5 separate regions of the Homo sapiens genome follow, and all the other regions are linked to region 4. Evidence: promoter capture Hi-C in human tissues and cell types (Jung and others, 2019). All regions are on one chromosome and are shown on one strand. The core of a region is centred on a gene start or on the middle of the fragment in contact, and the rest is flanking DNA. Distances in the headings are between cores, read along the strand shown. Region 1 overlaps SEPTIN9 (septin 9). Region 2 overlaps SEPTIN9 (septin 9). Region 3 overlaps C1QTNF1-AS1 (C1QTNF1 antisense RNA 1). Region 4 holds the start of TMC6 (transmembrane channel like 6). Region 5 overlaps SEC14L1 (SEC14 like lipid binding 1).

The links. The method cuts DNA at HindIII sites, captures the fragments that hold promoters and counts their contacts. A contact is called where the count stands out against the background at its distance.
Region 1: a fragment that was not itself captured here is called in contact with the fragment with the promoter of TMC6 in region 4 in 1 of the 25 tissues and cell types used here (spleen).
Region 2: a contact is called between a fragment that was not itself captured here and the fragment with the promoter of TMC6 in region 4, in 1 of the 25 tissues and cell types used here (dorsolateral prefrontal cortex).
Region 3: a contact is called between a fragment that was not itself captured here and the fragment with the promoter of TMC6 in region 4, in 1 of the 25 tissues and cell types used here (spleen).
Region 5: a contact is called between a fragment that was not itself captured here and the fragment with the promoter of TMC6 in region 4, in 1 of the 25 tissues and cell types used here (spleen).

Annotation. Positions count from the first base shown.
Region 1 is chr17:77,371,984-77,375,757 of GRCh38, forward strand. All of the region lies in intron 2 of SEPTIN9 (septin 9), which reads left to right. Among named protein-coding and RNA genes, the nearest start is that of MIR4316, 23 kb to the right of the region's middle. RefSeq lists a silencer at 966-1,465 and an enhancer at 3,654-3,774. The HindIII fragment of the contact is 8,820 bases long and covers 1-3,774 here.
Region 2 is chr17:77,455,484-77,459,040 of GRCh38, forward strand. The region is part of intron 3 of SEPTIN9 (septin 9); the gene reads left to right. It overlaps LOC105371903 (a long non-coding RNA gene), which reads right to left. Exons shown (of 3, transcript XR_934990.3): 3 at 1,055-3,557. Among named protein-coding and RNA genes, the nearest start is that of MIR4316, 60 kb to the left of the region's middle. RefSeq lists enhancers at 1-702, 1,352-1,965, 1,966-2,580, 2,005-2,084. The HindIII fragment of the contact is 3,011 bases long and covers 399-3,409 here.
Region 3 is chr17:79,016,694-79,020,268 of GRCh38, forward strand. C1QTNF1-AS1 (C1QTNF1 antisense RNA 1) reads right to left here. Exons shown (of 3, transcript NR_040019.1): 2 at 3,313-3,543; 3 at 2,516-2,923. Among named protein-coding and RNA genes, the nearest start is that of C1QTNF1, 5.7 kb to the right of the region's middle. The HindIII fragment of the contact is 6,860 bases long and covers 1-3,575 here.
Region 4 is chr17:78,126,734-78,130,617 of GRCh38, forward strand. TMC6 (transmembrane channel like 6) reads right to left here and starts at 2,022. Exons shown (of 20, transcript NM_001127198.5): 1 at 1,879-2,022; 2 at 44-173. The coding sequence starts at 99. RefSeq lists silencers at 136-185, 236-315, 1,586-2,115 and an enhancer at 656-905. The HindIII fragment of the contact is 22,186 bases long and covers 1-3,884 here.
Region 5 is chr17:77,155,239-77,158,840 of GRCh38, forward strand. The region is part of intron 3 of SEC14L1 (SEC14 like lipid binding 1); the gene reads left to right. Among named protein-coding and RNA genes, the nearest start is that of SEC14L1, 16 kb to the left of the region's middle. The HindIII fragment of the contact is 5,418 bases long and covers 1-3,602 here.

The sequences.
Region 1 (3,774 bases), core at 1,170-3,669, 750 kb before region 4:
CTGCACATTTGGGATATTTCAGAGGGGGTGGGGAGGGGCAAGTGGGCAGCGAGCGACCTCAGACCCAGGATGAGCTGTCAGGCGCTCCCCGGCCACACATTCAAGGGACCGGAGTGCAGTTGTAGCGTTGCGGCCTGCTGCTTCGGGGGTGGGGGTGTTGTTCCATGCTGTGAATTCTCACATGGCCCCTGACTCTGGGCAGAGGCCGAGGGTCTAAGGGACGGGGTGACAGGGAGAGCATGCAGGAGTGGGTTTCTGGCTTTCCAGGGCGAGTGGAAGAAGCGCCTCTCTCTCTTGTAGGTGACAGACCTGGGGGGCCCTTCTTGAGGATGAGAGCCTGTTGCTTCTCAAGTTCTGTGTCTAACCCAGGTCCCCAGGTCTACCCCAGCCCCTCGGCCCTGCCTGCCTTGTGGATGATATAGTTTAAGGGTAGAGACCGCTGGCCTGGAGGGAAGGCTAGGCCTCAGGTTAGGGCCCAGAAGGGAGGGAGAAGCCCTTGGGGCAGCTCCCTTTCTGCTCACTCACTGCCTAGCTCCTTCCTTCACACCTTCCTTCGGAAACGTCTGCTCCTGACAAGGTCTACTTCCTGCTCTCAGGAGGCCCTTATTGTGGAGGAAGGGAGGCGTCGCCCGTCCCTGGCTTCTCTGACAGCCGTGTTCCATCCCCGCCCTGTGCCCCTTCTCCCGGACAGTGCCTTCTCCAGGGCTCACCCAGGAGGGTGCAGCGGTGGCCCCCGGGGCGGTGGTCGTGGTGGGGGTGTTAGCTGCAGGGGTGCCCTCGGTGGGTGGGAGTTGGTGGCCTCTCGCTGGTGCCATGGGACTCGCATGTTCGCCCTGCGCCCCTCGGCTCTTGAGCCCACAGGCCGGGATCCTGCCTGCCAGCCGCGTGCGCTGCCGTTTAACCCTTGCAGGCGCAGAGCGCGCGGCGGCGGTGACAGAGAACTTTGTTTGGCTGCCCAAATACAGCCTCCTGCAGAAGGACCCTGCGCCCGGGGAAGGGGAGGAATCTCTTCCCCTCTGGGCGCCCGCCCTCCTCGCCATGGCCCGGCCTCCACATCCGCCCACATCTGGCCGCAGCGGGGCGCCCGGGGGGAGGGGCTGAGGCCGCGTCTCTCGCCGTCCCCTGGGCGCGGGCCAGGCGGGGAGGAGGGGGGCGCTCCGGTCGTGTGCCCAGGACTGTCCCCCAGCGGCCACTCGGGCCCCAGCCCCCCAGGCCTGGCCTTGACAGGCGGGCGGAGCAGCCAGTGCGAGACAGGGAGGCCGGTGCGGGTGCGGGAACCTGATCCGCCCGGGAGGCGGGGGCGGGGCGGGGGCGCAGCGCGCGGGGAGGGGCCGGCGCCCGCCTTCCTCCCCCATTCATTCAGCTGAGCCAGGGGGCCTAGGGGCTCCTCCGGCGGCTAGCTCTGCACTGCAGGAGCGCGGGCGCGGCGCCCCAGCCAGCGCGCAGGGCCCGGGCCCCGCCGGGGGCGCTTCCTCGCCGCTGCCCTCCGCGCGACCCGCTGCCCACCAGCCATCATGTCGGACCCCGCGGTCAACGCGCAGCTGGATGGGATCATTTCGGACTTCGAAGGTGGGTGCTGGGCTGGCTGCTGCGGCCGCGGACGTGCTGGAGAGGACCCTGCGGGTGGGCCTGGCGCGGGACGGGGGTGCGCTGAGGGGAGACGGGAGTGCGCTGAGGGGAGACGGGACCCCTAATCCAGGCGCCCTCCCGCTGAGAGCGCCGCGCGCCCCCGGCCCCGTGCCCGCGCCGCCTACGTGGGGGACCCTGTTAGGGGCACCCGCGTAGACCCTGCGCGCCCTCACAGGACCCTGTGCTCGTTCTGCGCACTGCCGCCTGGGTTTCCTTCCTTTTATTGTTGTTTGTGTTTGCCAAGCGACAGCGACCTCCTCGAGGGCTCGCGAGGCTGCCTCGGAACTCTCCAGGACGCACAGTTTCACTCTGGGAAATCCATCGGTCCCCTCCCTTTGGCTCTCCCCGGCGGCTCTCGGGCCCCGCTTGGACCCGGCAACGGGATAGGGAGGTCGTTCCTCACCTCCGACTGAGTGGACAGCCGCGTCCTGCTCGGGTGGACAGCCCTCCCCTCCCCCACGCCAGTTTCGGGGCCGCCAAGTTGTGCAGCCCGTGGGCCGGGAGCACCGAACGGACACAGCCCAGGTCGTGGCAGGGTCTAGAGTGGGATGTCCCATGGCCCCCATCCAGGCCTGGGGATATCCTCATCCGCCTCCCAGAATCGGGCCGTGGGGGACAGAAGGGGCCTGCGTGCGGGCAGGGAGAGTATTTTGGCTCTCTCCTGTCTTCGGGGTTTACAAAGTGTGTTGGGACTTGCGGGGCTGCTCTGTCCAAGCCTGGGTCTGGCGTCCGCGTCTCTGAGCCTGTGAGTGCGTGCGCTTTCCTGCGTCCTCTTGACTGCCGGTGCTGGGGCTCTGCGTCCTGCGTCCGCGGGAGTAAATACAGCAGGCGAAGGGGAAGCTCACACAATGGTCTCCAGCGCTCTGGGGCAGGGCTTCTGAGGGGCGGGCCTGCCTCTGCCGGGACCTGGAGCCCCCGCCCCTCGGAGAGGCTCCTAGGCTGACTTGGGCAGAGCCCTCTGGTGGGCCGGGAGGGGGAAAGGCTGTGTTGAAATGAGCAAACTGTCCAGGTGTCAGGCCAAGCTGGGAGGTGACCAGCCTGAGGTCCTCCCCGCTCCATGGCCAGAACCAGGGCTGACATCTGGGTGTCCTGAGCCCAGCTGCCCACACGGCCCACCTGGGGTCAGCCCTATCTGAGTGGGGGAGGCGGGGCCTCCTGGGGGACCAGAACTTTGGCTGGACGCCAAGCAGAGTGCCAGTGGCTGTTCTTCAGGGCTGGGCCTGAGGAGGGTGTGGGGCGGCGAAGGGACGGGAGGGGGTTGTGATCCAGTGGCCACTGGCGCTGTGCAGAGTGTGAGCTGGAAACATCGTAGTTACTTTGTCAGCTTAGTGGTGAAAGCCCTTTTTCAGGCTCTATCCCTTTGCATCCCTGCTTCCCAGAGGGAGGGGAGGTCTGGGTCTGCAGAGCTGGGAGGGCTTGCTGTTCCCGCCCCCCTCCCCCACAACACCTCCTCATCTGGACATCTTTGGGCACATGCTCATACTGGGGTCTCCCTAGGTCCACTGTGTTCCGTTGAGCCTCCTGCAGTCCCCGAGTGAATGTGACCTCCCTGCCCCTGCCTCTTTGCAACTCCTCCCTGCGACCGCTCCTCCAGGGGCCTTCCTTGTCCCAAATGTCCAAGTGGCACGACTTAGCCGGTCTGACCACTTTCCAGTAAGCCCTTATGGAGAGAGGCCCTGTGTTGTGCAGAGCTCTCCTCCTGCCTGCGGGATCGAGGTCTCTGCTCTCAGTTCCTAACAGAAAGTGTCGGGCCCCCAGTGGGATTTCTGGGGAAGAACTCTCGTGTCTCAACGGGAGCCCTGTGGCGGGAGGGGAGGCCAGGGTTTGGGGTTGTGTTCGTTGTACAGCTGTCACCATTTGCACTATGAAAGTTGTTAGTGCCCCTTCCTTGGGTCTCTGGGTGTAACTCCACCCTTGCCCCCATGTGCCTCCATCTGGAGCTGCTTCTGCGGCTGTCTCCCAAGCCAGTTTTGTGACCCTGTAATTTAGTCCAAGACAATGGGCTCATTGAGACCATCCTGGTGCAGCAGTTGGCAATCCTTTGGCTCTGGGGGAAGGTTTCTCAGTCTCGGGGAGTGGGGCCTCAATCTGCTGGTTCCCTGTGTTTATCAGTCTCCCCCTTGTGTGTCCTGAATGGTTTTGCTG
Region 2 (3,557 bases), core at 654-3,153, 670 kb before region 4:
TCCCCAGTGGAATGTGCATGGACGTCCTCCCTCCCCCAGATCCTTGTCTTTTATCTCTCAGCCTTTGTTCCAGGGGCCACCACAGGACCAGGAGGTACGCAGACGTGGGTGGCACATCCACTGGGCAGATTCAGCCCTGAACCTGCACGCCCCCTCCAAGGGGGCCCCCAGCGGGCGGGGTTGATGGTGCCGTCTCTCTCTCTGTCACTAGAACGGACATGAGGATTGTGTCTTGTCGATCCACGTCCTGAGTTCCCAGACGTCATAGGTGCTTGCTCAACGAGTGTTTGAATGAATGGTCAGCATTGTGTGACCGCAGATTTTCAACTTTTATCCAAATAGTTTGTGGTTTCTGTGAGGCTATCCCGAGACAGTCTCACAAGAATCTCCATTCTCCCTGCACGCTCCGCACAAGGTCTCCTTGGGGGGTTTTTCAGAAAAAGGGCCAAAGAGCAGCATTTCCTCGGGGATTTGAACACGATCTCCCCCGGGGCAGGGGACTGCCCTGGAAGATTCCCGGCACCGCTTCCCATGCGCCACGTGACTAGGAGGGTCTTGGGGCAGGATGGTGTCTTTTGTGCCTTGTGTGCTGGGGCCGGAGGAAACACTGCCCGTGGCCGGTGTCATCTGCCAGCCCTGAAGACTAATGATGGGCTGGACAGTGGCCCCATTGAGTGGGAGGGAGAATCGCTGCTGTCTGTAGCTGGGGGGCCGGGTGGGTGGGAGCCGAGGCCAGGGAGAACAGCGCAGACCTGGCACGGAGAGGCCTGGAGGAGGAGCAGGGGGTCTCAGCCACCCAGGGTGCAGGGACGCCACACGAGGAGCAGGTGTGGTGTGCGTCCTCCTGCGGGTTCTCCACCTCTTGGCTTCGTTACCTGCACTAGGCTTTGTGGTGAGAGGGCACAGAGTGGAGGAAGGTGCCGTGGCTAGGGCAGGCCACACGCTGTGCTAATGGATTGCTGTTACCTGTCGCCTCTGTGGTTTTGCTGTCAGGATCCTCCAGCACCAGGTCCCCACCACCAGGTATGGGCCCCACAGGCACTACTGGCTCCCCGAAGCCAGGGACAGACCCCATAGACAATACTGAGTCCCTGCAGCCAGGGATGGGCCCCCACGGCCAGTACCAGATCTCAGGGACCAGCACCGGGTACCCACAGCCAGGGACAGGCCTCCATGGCCAGTACCAGGTCTCAGGGACCAGCACCGGGTACCCACAGCCAGGGACGGGCCCCCATGGCCAGTACCAGATCTCAGGGACCAGCACCGGGTACCCACAGCCAGGGACGGGTCCCCATGGCCAGTACCAGGTCTCAGGGACCAGCGCTGGGTCCCCACAGCCAAGGACAAGTCCCCACGGCCAATACCAGATCCCAGTGACCAGCACTAGATGTCCACAGCCAGAGATGGGCCCCTATGGCCAGTACCAGGTCTCAGGGACCAGCGCTGGGACCCTGGATGACTGAAGGAGGGCACGGTTGACTAAAGCTGCAGGAGCCAGCCTGGCCATCCTGAGGCACTAAGCCATCACTGCGGTCTCAGGGGACTCAGACTCCTCTACTTGTCTTCTTGAATTCTGGAATCAGACACACCTGGGTCCAGCCTTTGCCCCCGGGGCTGTGTGCCTGGGATGGTTGCCTCACCTCCCTGAAGCTCAGTGAGATGGGGACGGCTGCACAGGGCCCGGCACAGATGGCACCCGATGGCACAGGGTCACCTGCTTGCATCCATACAGCCTCGGCCCTCGCTCTGGCTGCGTACCGAGAGTCCCATGCCCAGACCTCTGCTGAGTCTCCAAGCTCCTGGTCATGCCTCAGGCCTCCCGTGAGAAGCATCACTGCATGGACCATGCCTCGGGACCTCACCTTGGGCTGGGAAGCTTGCTCCATCTCCCCAAGTCTCCCCTAGAGGCGCCCCATGTCCCATCACTCTCACTGCTTGAGGGGTCAGATAGGGGAACCCAGTGTGGGAGGCCCAGAGGTGCCGGAGCAGACGTTAAGCGAGTTCCGTGTTTATGCGCTGGGCCTTGGCAGACACCCTGAATGAGCCTCTTCCCCAGGAAGGAGATTGGGGTCCCAGTCCAAGTTGTGGCCTCAAACCCTGTGACCAAGAGTGGAGAAAAGGCAAGACCCCTCCTCCCAGTCTTCCAGAACAGCCGATAGTGGTGGAAACATGGGGTTCACACTGAATTTCCTTGTAACTTGTTGAAGAGAATTTAGCCCACATTTTCAGGGGTGGAGGTCTGGCCGATTTGGCAGTGTGCCCGTCCCCCTGGCCACAGTTTACTCTGGACCGGGCACCCTGGTGCCCTCCCTCAGTGACGCAGTGAAGTCACTATGACGTGTTTAGTTGGTGAGAAAGTGCCTCCTGTAATGTTTTACTCTTCTTAGAGGGTGAATAAGCCTTGTTTATTATAAATAATTATTTACAGAATACATGAGGTTTAACCTAACTCTGGGCCACGGCAGCGTCCCCTGGGTAAACCCACGCGCCACCCTAGCTAGAGCCTGTGCCCCCACAGGCTTCCTGGACTCACCCTGAAGGGGGGCTGGATTTTCTGCCTGTCCCGATGAGAGGGCTGCAGGACAGTCCCCAGCGAGCCCTTCTGAGGGCTGTAACCTCTTCCCCTGGTATTTTCCTGCTCGCCAGGAATGTTTCAAGCTTCCAGCAGAAGCCTACCCACCATAGTCGCTTTCCACCCTGCTCACCATCCCTCCTGCCCTCACTCATTCAGCAGACCCCGTGCACAGCCCAGTGCAGGACTCAGGGTGGGAAGGTGTCCCGGGTGGGCTGGAGCAAGGTTCCCAGCCAGGGCGGGGTCCCAAGGTGGGTCCACAGCCAGGACTGTGATTTGGGAGGCCCCTCCCTGCCTTGTTCCAGCCCCGGCACCGCCGCTGTCCTTGTGCTCAGTGGAGACTCACTGGCTCCAGGCTCTAAAACCTCAGCGAGGTCTGCAGACAGGGAGGAGCCCCACTCGAGGGTAGAGTGACTGCCGGGTCCATTTGCCTGTTACGAACCACGTGGCCTCAGACCTGCCATTCCTCCTCTCCTAGAGCTATGGTCTTTTGTCTGAAAAATGGATAATGATGGTTACCATGTCAGGGACCATTTTGAGGACAAACGGGGATGAAACTGAAGAGGCTCAGCACGGAACCTGGACACAGAAGTGCTAATTGTGTGTTACCAGCTGCGGTGGCTGCCAAGGCCCAACCACATGGCAGCCACGGGCTGAGTGGCGGGCGGGAAGTGGGGAGCAGGAGCATGCAAGATGGGCATTCCTGAAGTTTCTGATCCAGTGAGATAAGTACACACCCAGCTCTAAGATGGAGTGTCCCAGGAAGGTGGAGACTGCAAAGGCCTTGTGGCGCAGGAGTGTGAGCTGCACCTCTGGGCTCTCTAGAATTTCACCAGAGCTCAGGGAGGAGGTCAGCTCAGATATAGGGGCAACGGGAGAGATGGGAGTGAGAAAATGGCTTGGCGTCTGGAAGTGGAGCCTGGAAAGGTGGGCGTGGGGACAGAGGAGGGCCTTGGGGGCCATGGGCCCATGCGTCCAGGAGGTG
Region 3 (3,575 bases), core at 468-2,967, 890 kb after region 4:
GTGAACCAACCAGTGATCTCTGGCCATGGCTCAGAACAAATAATAGGGATGGGTAACATAAGAAATATCTGGATCAGTATTCTAATTCAGGGCACATATTGGAATCTGTTAGCAACCCCATATCAGCTTAGTTCCAACAGTTGCCCAGTTGATGGAATGCCTTATTTAATTTATTTGGGATAAAGTATTAATCCATTCTCACACTGCTATAGAGAAATACCCAAGACTGGGTAACTTATAAAGCAACAAGATTTAATGGCTCACGGTTCTGCAGGCTGTACAGGAAGCATGGCAGCATCTGCTTCTGGGGAGGCCTCAGGGAGCTTTTAGTCATGGCCTAAGGCAAAGGGGGAGAGGCCTCTTACATGACAGGAGCAGGAGAAAGAGAGAGAGCGAGGAGGTACCATACACTTTTAAACAACCAGATCTCACGAGAACTCACCCACTATCATGACCAAGGGGGATGGGGCCAAACCATTCATGAGAAACTGCCCCAGTGATCCAGTCACCTCCCATCAGGCCCTACCTCCAACTTTGGGGACTATAATCGGACATGAGATTTGGTGGGGACACAGATGCAAACCATATCAGATAATTTTACTTATTTTGCTTTACTATTGTGGAATATATTCCTGTTGTACTCGTTGTGTAGGAATGCAGAATAAGCTTACTCGCCGTTTTCTTAAATTGAACATTTGCCAGTCTTCCAGATATCACCTTTTGTTGGAACTCAGAGTTATGAATGGCCGTCAGTATGCTGATGCTTTCTGACTGAGTTCCTCTCTACCCTGAATACAAAAGACCTTAATAGTTAGATGAGAATATCATTACTCCTATTTAGCCTGAAGAAGCTACAGAAGGGGAATCTTCCTACCTCTACAACCCTTAGGATTAGTGGTCCTCTTGTAAAAAGGAGGGGGGAAATATGTCAGAGGCATTGGAAGCAGAGCAACTTTAACTTGAATAGGGGCTGGGTAAAATGATGCTGAGACCTGCTGGGCCACATTCCTGGGAGGTTAAGGCATTTTAACCTCCCGGGATCTGAGATGAGATAGGAGGTCACAAGATACAGGCCACAATGACCCTGCTCATATAACAGGATGCAGTATAAAGGCTGGCCAAAACCTGCCAAAACCAAGATGGCAACAAAAGTGACCTCTAGTTGTCCCAACTGCTCATTATATGCTAATTATAATACATTAGCATGCTAAAAAAACACTCCCACCAGCACCGTGGCAGTTTACAAAGGCCATGGGAACGTCTGGAAGTTACCCTGTATGGCCTATGACGGGGAGAAACCCTCAATTACAAGAAATTCTTGCCCCTTTCCCAGAAAGCTCATGAATAATCCACCCCTTGTTTAGCATATGATCAAGACATAACCATAAAAATAGCCAACCAGCAGCCTTTGGGGGTGCTCTGCCTATGGAATAGCCATTTTTCTTTTCTTTTCTTTCTTTTTTTTTTTTTTTTTTTTGGCACAGTGTTGCTCTATTGCCCAGGTTGGAGTGCAATGGCGCAATCTTGGCTCTCTGCAACCTCCATCTCCCACGTTCAAGTGATTCTCATGCCACAGCCTTCTGAGTAGCTGGGATTACAGGCATGCTACTTGAACAGGGGCTGGGTAAAATAAGGCTGAGACCTGCTGGGCTGTATTCCTGGGAGGTTAGGCAGGAATAGGGGTAAATAGGGGTAATTATATTTTTAGTAGAGATGGGGGTTCACCATGTTGGCCAGGGTGGTCTTGAACTGATCTCAGGTGGTCTGCCTGTCTCGGCCTTCTGAAGTGTTGGCATTACAGGCATGAGCCACTGCGTCCGGCCTCCTTTACTCTCTTGATAAACTTGCTTGTATTTTACCCTGTGGACTTATCCCAAATTCTTTCTTGCTCAAGATCAAAGAACCCTCTCTTGGGGTCTGGTTTGGGACCCTTTCCAGTAACAGCTCCACAGACATCATCAGATGGCTTAATTTTGCCAATCTGATGGTAATCAGTGTCTTCTCCTTGCCTGATTACTGTGAGGTTGTATATCTTTTCTTACACTTTTTGGCTGTTTACGTTTCTTTTTCTGTGGATTCCCCATCATCTTGTGTGTTTTTAGGAATTGATCCATCCCATCCCCATTGATATACGTGCAATGCCAATTTTGTCATAGATCAAGTTTTCATACACACATGGGTCTTTGTCGGGTGGGCCTTCTATCATGTTGAACTAATATACTTGATCACATCTGTTCCAATACCAGTATCTTCATTATTATGTCTTTATAATAAGCCTTCCTATGATGTAGGACAAGTCCCCTCCTACCTCACCCACCTTCAACCTTCTGGGATTTTGAATGGAATTGCTTGGAATCTATAGCTTAATTGAGCGAGAACTGAGTTTTTTTTTTTTTTTAATGATATTGAGTCTTCTATCTAAGACCACGCTTTGCTTTTCCATTTCTTTGGATTTTCTTTAGTGCTTTTCAGTAAGGGTTTGTAATTTTCACTTCACAATATAGCTTGGAGATTGTTCCAGATCACATATAGAGAGCTGTTTATTCTCTAAAGAGCTACACGGTGTTCCACTGTGTGGAATTTATTTTACCAGGCCCCTAATGATGTCCTTTGAGGGTATCTGTGCTTTTTTTATACTACGGCAATGCTTCAGAGGATATCCTTGAACTTACTTATTTGAGCACCCTTCTAAGTTTATCTGTAGGAGAAACTCCTAGAAGAAAGATTAGGGGGTCAAAGGGTATTTGCATTCTGTGAGCGAACACACCCTCCCTTCCAGAGAGGCTGTACCATAAAATCACTTTCCTTAAGGTCAACAAATACAATCAGGCTTTCATTGGATTTTCATTCTCCTTGTCTTCTTTGCATCCTCAGAGACTTCACCATAGACTCCTTTTGGAAATTCTCTTTAGTTTCTGTGGCTCTGCATAAAGGACAAGACATTCTTTATTGAATCATTCATTCATATGTTGACATGCATTTACTCACTCATTTCATAGTTAAGTGCTTGGAACTGGGGAGTCCACCAGGGGGCCCTCCCATCTTATTTATCAAGTAAAATATTGCCTAGTCGATCAGTATATGCCTGTCTCCATGTAACTGAAAACATTCATTGCCAAAACAGGAGAGTAAATATTCAGAGGTGAGGAAACTGAGGCATAGGGAAATTAAATGGCTTGATAGAGTTGCAAGGCACACGTGTACATGGCCTCAGGGGAGACTTCTGTGGAAAGGCATGGCTTCCTGGAAGAGGGAACGCCCTTACCCTCCTGGTTTTCTGCAGGTGTGAGGACCATAAAGAAACCTATTCACCTGGTGTGTCCTTGCAGCTGCCAGTCCTGATCTCCACCTGTCCCAAGCTGCTCAGAACGTGGCAGCGCCATCCAGGAGCCACGAGCATGGGCCAGTGGCCAGGGAGGCTGGATCTGTCTGCCAAGTTTCCACTTTTCCATCTTAGCAGCTTCTCCGAAGCTCTGTGGAGACTCTCCCCACTCCCACCCCTTGGCAGTGGGACGTCACCATCGGAGCCGGCCGGTCGCTACCCTTGGGAACAGAATTCAAAGTTTGCAATACCA
Region 4 (3,884 bases), core at 772-3,271:
GTGGAACATTCCAGCCTCCAGCCCCCAGCCCCAGAGCGCTTACCCCTGGTCCCCTGGGGTCTCAGGGACATCGAGGATGAAGGCCAGTGGCTGGGCCATGTCTCTGGCCAATGCCCGCTAGTCTGCAGACCTAGGGTAGCTCAGAGCCTGGGCGCCACCTCCGGAGCCCCCATCTGATGAGACAGGGGCACAGAGCCAGGGGTGGTCTTCAACGCCTGGCAGCTGTCCACACCACCCATTCCTGGGGGAACCACAGGAGGTGCCACTCACAGCCCAGACAGTCCCGCCCACCCCCCTATCACCCCAGGTACATAAATGGTGAGGCACCGAATAAGCCTCATGCCAGAATGGAATGGGGGGCCCCCTCCAGTGTCAGGGGAGGGGAGAGAGGAAGGAAGGGTGTGGGGTCTGCAGTTCCACATCTGTTTCCTCGATGTCGCCAGTCCCTGGGAAATGGGGAAGAGGTAGGGTGCCTGTAGACACAGCCCCTTTCAGGATCTCCATGCCCAGGGTTCTGGCACAGAGACACCTCCTTTTTGGAGAGAAAGGTCAGAGTAGGCTGTAGGCCTTCTCTGCGTCTGCCCTGTGACCTCAAAGAACTTCCTCTAGCAGGAAATTAGCTGCTGGAGCCCTCACCCCCAACCAGCCCCAGGCGGAAGCAGCACAGGGGGCTCCTCCCCCACACACAGAGGTCACTCCATGCCACCGCCGTCAGGGCGCCAAGGTCCTCATGTTCTCAGAAGACCCACTGCCCTGCATTCCATCATCCCAGGGCGGCCGGCTGGGGGTGGCCAGGACCTCAACAGGCCTCCTTTGTCCTGGCTCTGCCGTCACCCGGCACAACTGGAACCAGAGCAGCCTTGTCTGGGGCCCTGGGCTCGGGGCCCGTTCATCTGTGAGAGTGGAGCCAGGACTCAGCTCCCAGCCACCAGCGAGTCCTGCCGGCCTCTGCCCTGGACTCCTCCTGCGCTCACCCTCAGGAACTCAGGGCTCAAAGTCGGCCGGGTTGAAGGGCGCTTTCCTCGGACAGGCAAAGCCCGGGGGCGCCCCGACAGAGCAGCTCCTTGCAGGGGTGCCAGTCACAGGACCGGACGGCGCCCTCCCTCAGTGTCCTGGGTGCCATCTTCGGGCCCAGGCCCCACACCACCCCCTCCCTCCAGCAGGAGCAAAGACGTGGGAAAACCAGCCCAGAGCTGGGTCCGAGGCGGCCCCACCCAGCCTAACACGGGACAGCTGCCGAAAGAGGGGCTGAGGACGCCCCACCCAGTCCCTAGAGCTGGAATCCCTTCCTCCAGACAGGCCCTTCTAAGCTCAGGGAACCCGGGGACTCGGGCACCCAGCGCCCCAGCACTCCGCCCCGAGGCCCAGGCAAGTCCAGCGGAGTTTCCAGGCGCACCATTCCTGAGCTAGGTGGGGAGAGGCTGGGTGGCGCCCGTTTCCAGGAACCCCCACCCCAGCCGGCAGCGAGCTTCCCGGGAGCAGCCGCTACCCAGGGAGAACCGCAACCTGGCCCCAGAGCCCAGAGCGGCTGCAACTCTGGGGCCACCGAACCCGTCCAGCCGGCCTCCCTGTCCCCCGCCCCTTCCCATCCCGGCCACACCCCCTCCCCTCCCCTCCCCGTGCCCTGGCGCTCGGCTGGGGGACCTGGGTGGGGGCTGCGGATTTTGCTCCCCGCACTGTCCTCCCCGCCCCTGCCGCTCCCAGCTCTGTCCGAGCCGGAGGGTCAAGCCCTGGGAGCTCCAGGAGCACCCGGGGAGGGAACTCGGCTGCCAAATGGCCCCAGAGGCCGAAAGGAATTCAGGGGGGATTGCCGCTGTCCCCGCATAGGAGAAGCAGCTGGGGCTGGCGGGACCCGGGACCGGGATCGCGGCCGCTCACCTGGGAGGCGCCGGGGAGGAGGGGCCGCGCGCGCAGCCAGGGCTCACCTGTGCCCCGCAAGAGCCGCCGGGAACTGAGGTCTCGGCTCTCCTTGCCAAGGGAGTGGCAAAGGGCCCCAGGGGCGACTGGGCCAGTCGCAGGTCTGCCGGGGCCGGGGGAGTAGCCGCACCTCCCGGCCCACGTGGGCGGGGGGGGGGGGGGCGGGCCTCGGCTATCACGTGACCCGGCCCGGCCCGCGGCGCCCCCGCCCTCCTCCGGGCGCCCCGCGGCGACTATGCCTTCCTCCCCTGCCAACTTCCGACCCCTCCTCCTGAGGTCTGAGCTGGGCTGGATTCATTCCAGCCCCTGGTTGAAGTCCCCAATTTTTCTGACGCTCAGTTTCCCCAAGTTCCAAAAAGGGGCAATATTTCCAGACTCATCTGCTTCCCATGGTTAGGGATCGTCCAAGTAAGATGCCGCCGAAAGCCCCAGGGACACAGAGTATCTCACTCCAGATTGGGCAGCGCCCCCCCCCCCGCCGCCCCCGCAAGCCTCCTGCTGACTCTCCCCGACCCCGGCGGGGGGAGCCTGGTTATCTCCCACTCCTGACACCTGGGCGGGGTTCATTGTTTATCTAGCAAGAGTTCTGGCTCACTTCCTGTGTGCTGTGTGGAGAGGAGGGGATGAAAAGGAGGACACGCTGACACTTAGGTGACTGTCCCCAGGTGCTGTACCCGTTGCCCTGTTTTCTGTTATTCCCCATGAGCCAGGAAGGTATGCACTGATATTCCCATTTCACAGATGAGGAAACTGAGGCTGAGAGAAGTTAATCACCCTTTAGGGTGCCCCCAGCCAAAGCAGGAGACTTAGTGGTCCACCTGGGAACTCTATGGAGGAAACTGCCTTTGAGATTGTACCCCCCACCCCAAGCCCATTTGGAAGGGAGGGTCATTCCTGGCGGGGAGAAGCCATGAAGCAGGCAGGGTGAATGTGAGCTGGGGCCCAGGAGGGCAGGAGAGGGCACTGCTGCAGGGGAGAGCAGGCAAGCAAAAGCGAGGACCAGGCAGGGGTCAAGGCTGGGGCCTTTTGGAGCTGCCAGTGTGGTCCTCAGATGGCTACCCCAAGCTGGTTCTTGGCAAGTGGCACCCTGGCATGGAGACCCAGCCCCTGCCTCTCCTCCCACTGCTTCCCCCTCCCTGCATACCCACACTGAATTTGCATGAATGCCACCTCCTCTGGGGAGCCTCCCCAGATTGAACCCTGGTGGAGCACCTACCACTTCCTATTGACATGTACATCTGTGGTTCTGTGCCCCCTCCTACCCCAGCCCACTGTGTGCCCAGCACCAGCACATAGCTTGCGCCTGACACACAGAAAGGACTCTGGAAACCAGGAAGGAGGTGGGCAGAGAGGCAGAAAAGCTATGAACATTCAGACCTGAGATGACTGGGCCCTATAGCAGGTAGAGAGGGAGCAGAGAGGAAGGGCTGCGGGCTTCCCAGGGGCCCAAGGACAGAGAATTGGCAAAGATATGTCTTAAACATCTAGCCTGGGAGAGCATGAATGGAGCCAATTCCTGAGCACTTACTACCGGCCAGGTGCTAGGCCTGGGTCTTGGCACAACCATAACGCCAATGACAGGGGCTGGAAGTACAGCAGTAACACCAAGAGTATCTGGAAACCCAGCAGCCAGGTTCTGGGGAGCCCACCATCCTGTCATTATCACACCCTCCAGGGTGAGGCCGGCAGATAAAGAGTTTGGCCCCTGTGCCCCCACCGTTCCCATCCCCACCCATGTCAGGCTCCCAGCTCAGGCCTCGAGGTCAAGTCCTGCCTATCCAGGCTGGAAGGAGTTGAACAGAGAGGGCCTCAGCTGCAGGCTGGACATCCCTGGAGGCAGCCAGGCGGCAGACCCGGACCAGTGGACCCTAGGGCTGCAGGAGACCAGGCCCTGACTCCTGTGCAGAGGGGAAGGGTGGGCCACCCGCAGCCCAGCATGCACAGAGCTCCCTGGGAGGCCAAGTGGC
Region 5 (3,602 bases), core at 697-3,196, 970 kb before region 4:
CAGGCAGATTTAATGCCTCTGAAACAGAGTTCATCTCCTCTTGCCTGCGCAAAAAACACACACCCCAACAGAAACAAACACACACCCACACCCACACACCCACCCCAGTAAAAACCAAACCAATAAAACACCACTCAGAAGCTCTCCCTTTCCCCTGAGCTGCTGCTTTAGATGTGTGGCCCCGCAGGTACCTTACCCTCAGAGCAGAAATCCAGGCATCCCTGGCAGCCTTCCTTCCTCACCCCTCAGTCTTGCTGGTGCCCAGATGGGAGCTGGCAGAGATGTCTCCTGGATGGGCGCTCACTTTGCTCTTCTGTAGCCTTGGTGGCTTAGCCCCAGACCACTCCTCCTTACAACAGCCTCTGGACCCTGAGTCTACCCCTCACTCTTCTGCTCGTCCTTGGGGCTGCTGCCAGAGAGATCGGTACATTGTAAACTTGACTGTGCTGCCTGCAAGTTTCAAATGATGAAGTGCCTGCACCTCATCTTTATTTATTTATTTATTTAATTTTTTTGAGACAGAATCTCGCTCTGTTGCCCAGGCTAGAATGCAGTGGTGCCATCTCGGCTCACTGCAGCCTCCGCCTCTCTCCTGCCTCAGCCTCAGCTGGGATTACAGGCGTGAGCCACTTCGCCCAGTCCACGTACCTCATCTTTAAGATGAGGTTCCCAGCTTAAGCTTGGCTCCCAGAATCCTTTGTCATTGGCCTTCTGCCTGTCCTGCAGCCTCCTCTCCATGGCGAGGCCTCCACACCCACTGCACAGTCTAATTATGTCGAATTTCTTGCTGTTTCCTAGGTATACCATTTTTTGTCATGATCTTGGTGCCTTGACCACATACTTGCCTGGAATACCTTTCCTGCTTTCTCACCTGGCTGACTCTAGCTGGCTGCATGCAGTTGCTCCTGGTGGAGGTTCCTCTCTGTGCACTGGCAGCCGCTGTAGGGTCCTGACACTCCACTGGTCTCTCTGCCTCTCTCTGTCACCTTCCCTGCAACTGCCAGTGTTCCCAGGGTGAGAATCAAATCCTCATGCCCTCAAAAATAGATTTCTCGGCCAGGCACGGTGGCTCACACTTGTAATCCCAGCACTTTGGGAAGCTGAGGCAGGCGGATCACTTGAGGTCAGGAGTTTGAGACCAGCCTGGCCAACATAGTGAAACCCCATCTCTATTAAAAATACAAAAATTAGCTGGGCGTGGTGGCGTACATCTGTAATCCTAGCTACTGGGGAGGCTGAGGCACGAGAATTGCTTGAACCCAGGAGGCTGAGGTTGCAGTGAGCTGGGATCACACCACTGCACTCCAGACTGGGCAGCAGAGCGAGACTCCGTCTTAAAAAAAAAAAAAAAAGATGTCTATGAAGAGTAGAGGGTCTTGCAGTGTATGCTTTCGTTTCTTGCATCACTTCTTCTCTGTCAGTGAAATTTTGTTTTTTGTTTTTTTTTTACTCTAATCCCATGACATAATGAAAATTTTGACAAAAGGTTACATTGGAACATAGTCGTTTGGTCGGCTGTATTTACTATTTATGGTTCAAAAGAATCTGATGCAAATCATGTTTTGTGAGTAAAATAGTTCAGTGAACTGAAGCTTATAATCCCTCTAGTTGCCTGAAAAGCGTGTCCTGGTTTATGTGTCACTTAGTGTTTTGAGTGGCTTTTCTCCTGTAGTGATGAATACAAAGTATATACAAAATCCTATTTCTTTGGTTCTCCTACAGAACATAAATTTATTTTAAGTAAAATTCTTGACTCTGGTGGAATGGTAATCTGACTTTAAGATTTCTCCAAATTTAAAACCCAAGAGTTATTACATAATTCTTGTTTTCTTAATAAATAAGTTATTCCATAGCATGAGGTAGGCCTAATCACAAAATGTGTGTGTTTCTTTTCTTTTTCCTAGTTTAATGCTTGTGTATGTATTAAAAATCAAGGCCCAGAACTAAAAGCTACAGGGTACATATTTTAAGAAGTAAATTGATTTAAGTGGTCATTGGTATGTTGCAGGATTTATGGCATTAATATTTAGAAAGCTCTTCTCCAAACACGTATTATCTTCATTTGAATTTTCTCACACAAAGTTGGTTTATAATGTAAATTCGAAGAGTTCCAAATCCTAATTCTTCACTGAGTCAGAATTTCTGGAGGTGAGTCCCGCAGTCTGTGGCTTCACAAGGCTTCCAGGTGATTCTTAACGCCTGCTCAAGCTGGAGAACCCCTGGTGTGGATTTGCATCATTTGAATTTGTAGTACATGGGATAGGAAGAAAGGAGGGTGGTTTCTATTATAACTTTTTTTTTTTTTTTGAGATGGGGCCTCGCTGCGTTGCCCAGGCTGGAGTGCAGTGGCATGATCTCGGCTCACTGCAGCCTCCACCTCCCAGGTTCAAGCGATTCTTCTGCCTCAGCCTCCTGAGTAGCTGGGATTACAGGCATGCGCCACCATCCCCGGCTAATTTTTGTATTTTTAGTAGAGACGGGGTTTCACCATGTTGGTCAGGCTGGTCCCAAACTCCTGACCTCGTGATGCGTCTGCCTTGGCCTCCCAAAGTATTGGGATTACAGGCATGAGCCACCATGCCTGGCCATAACTTTTATTTAAAAGTTTTTCAAACGAATGGTTTTTTTCAACAGGCTGTATAAATAGGCTCTTATTACATCATGTTTTCATGTGACGGATTTAACATACACTAGAAGGAGACTGTTTGCTTTATGTACTTCTCCAAATTGCTGTTCTTGAGTTTATTTAGTGATGTCCACGTTATATTAACAAGCATGTGGGCTGGGCATGAGCCACCGTGCCTGGCCATAACTTCTATTTTTGTATTTTTAGTAGAGATGGGGTTTCACCATATTGGCCAGACTGGTCTCGAACTCCTGACCTCATGATCCACCCACCTTGGCCTTCCAAAGTGCTGGGATTACAGGCGTGAGCCATCGTGCCCGGCCTGTAACCACTTTTAAGTGCAGAGTTCAGTGGCACTAACTAAATTCACATCGTTGTGCAGCCACCACCACCATCCATCTCCAGAACTTTCTCATCTCCCCAAATCGAAGCTCTGTCCCCATGAAACACTCATTCCCCATTCTTCCTTTCCCCAGCCCCTGGCAGCCACCATTCTTTCTGTCCCTATAAATTTGACTACTCTCGGTACCTCTTATGGGTAGAATGACACTTGACCTTTTGCGTAACTTGGTAGTTACTTGACCTTTTGTGTAACTGGGTTTTTTCACTTAGCCTAATGTCTTCAAGGTTCACCCATGTTGTAGCTTTAGTTTTTGGGTAGTACTTGACCTTTTGTGTAACTGGGTTTTTTCACTTAGCCTAATGTCTTCAAGGTTCATCCATGTTGTAGCATGTGCAGAATTCCCTTCCTCTTCAGGGGTGAATTGTACTCAATTGTATATGCCACATTCTGAATTGAATTGTACTCAATTGTATCTGCCACATTCTGCTCATCCATTGACTTACCGATGGACGTTGGGTTGTTTCTACCTTTTGGCTGTTGTCTGTACTATACATTTTTAAAGTTTCAATTACATTTTATAGCTTTCTTTCCTTTTTTTTTTTTTTTTTTTTTTTTTTTTTTTTTGAGACAGTC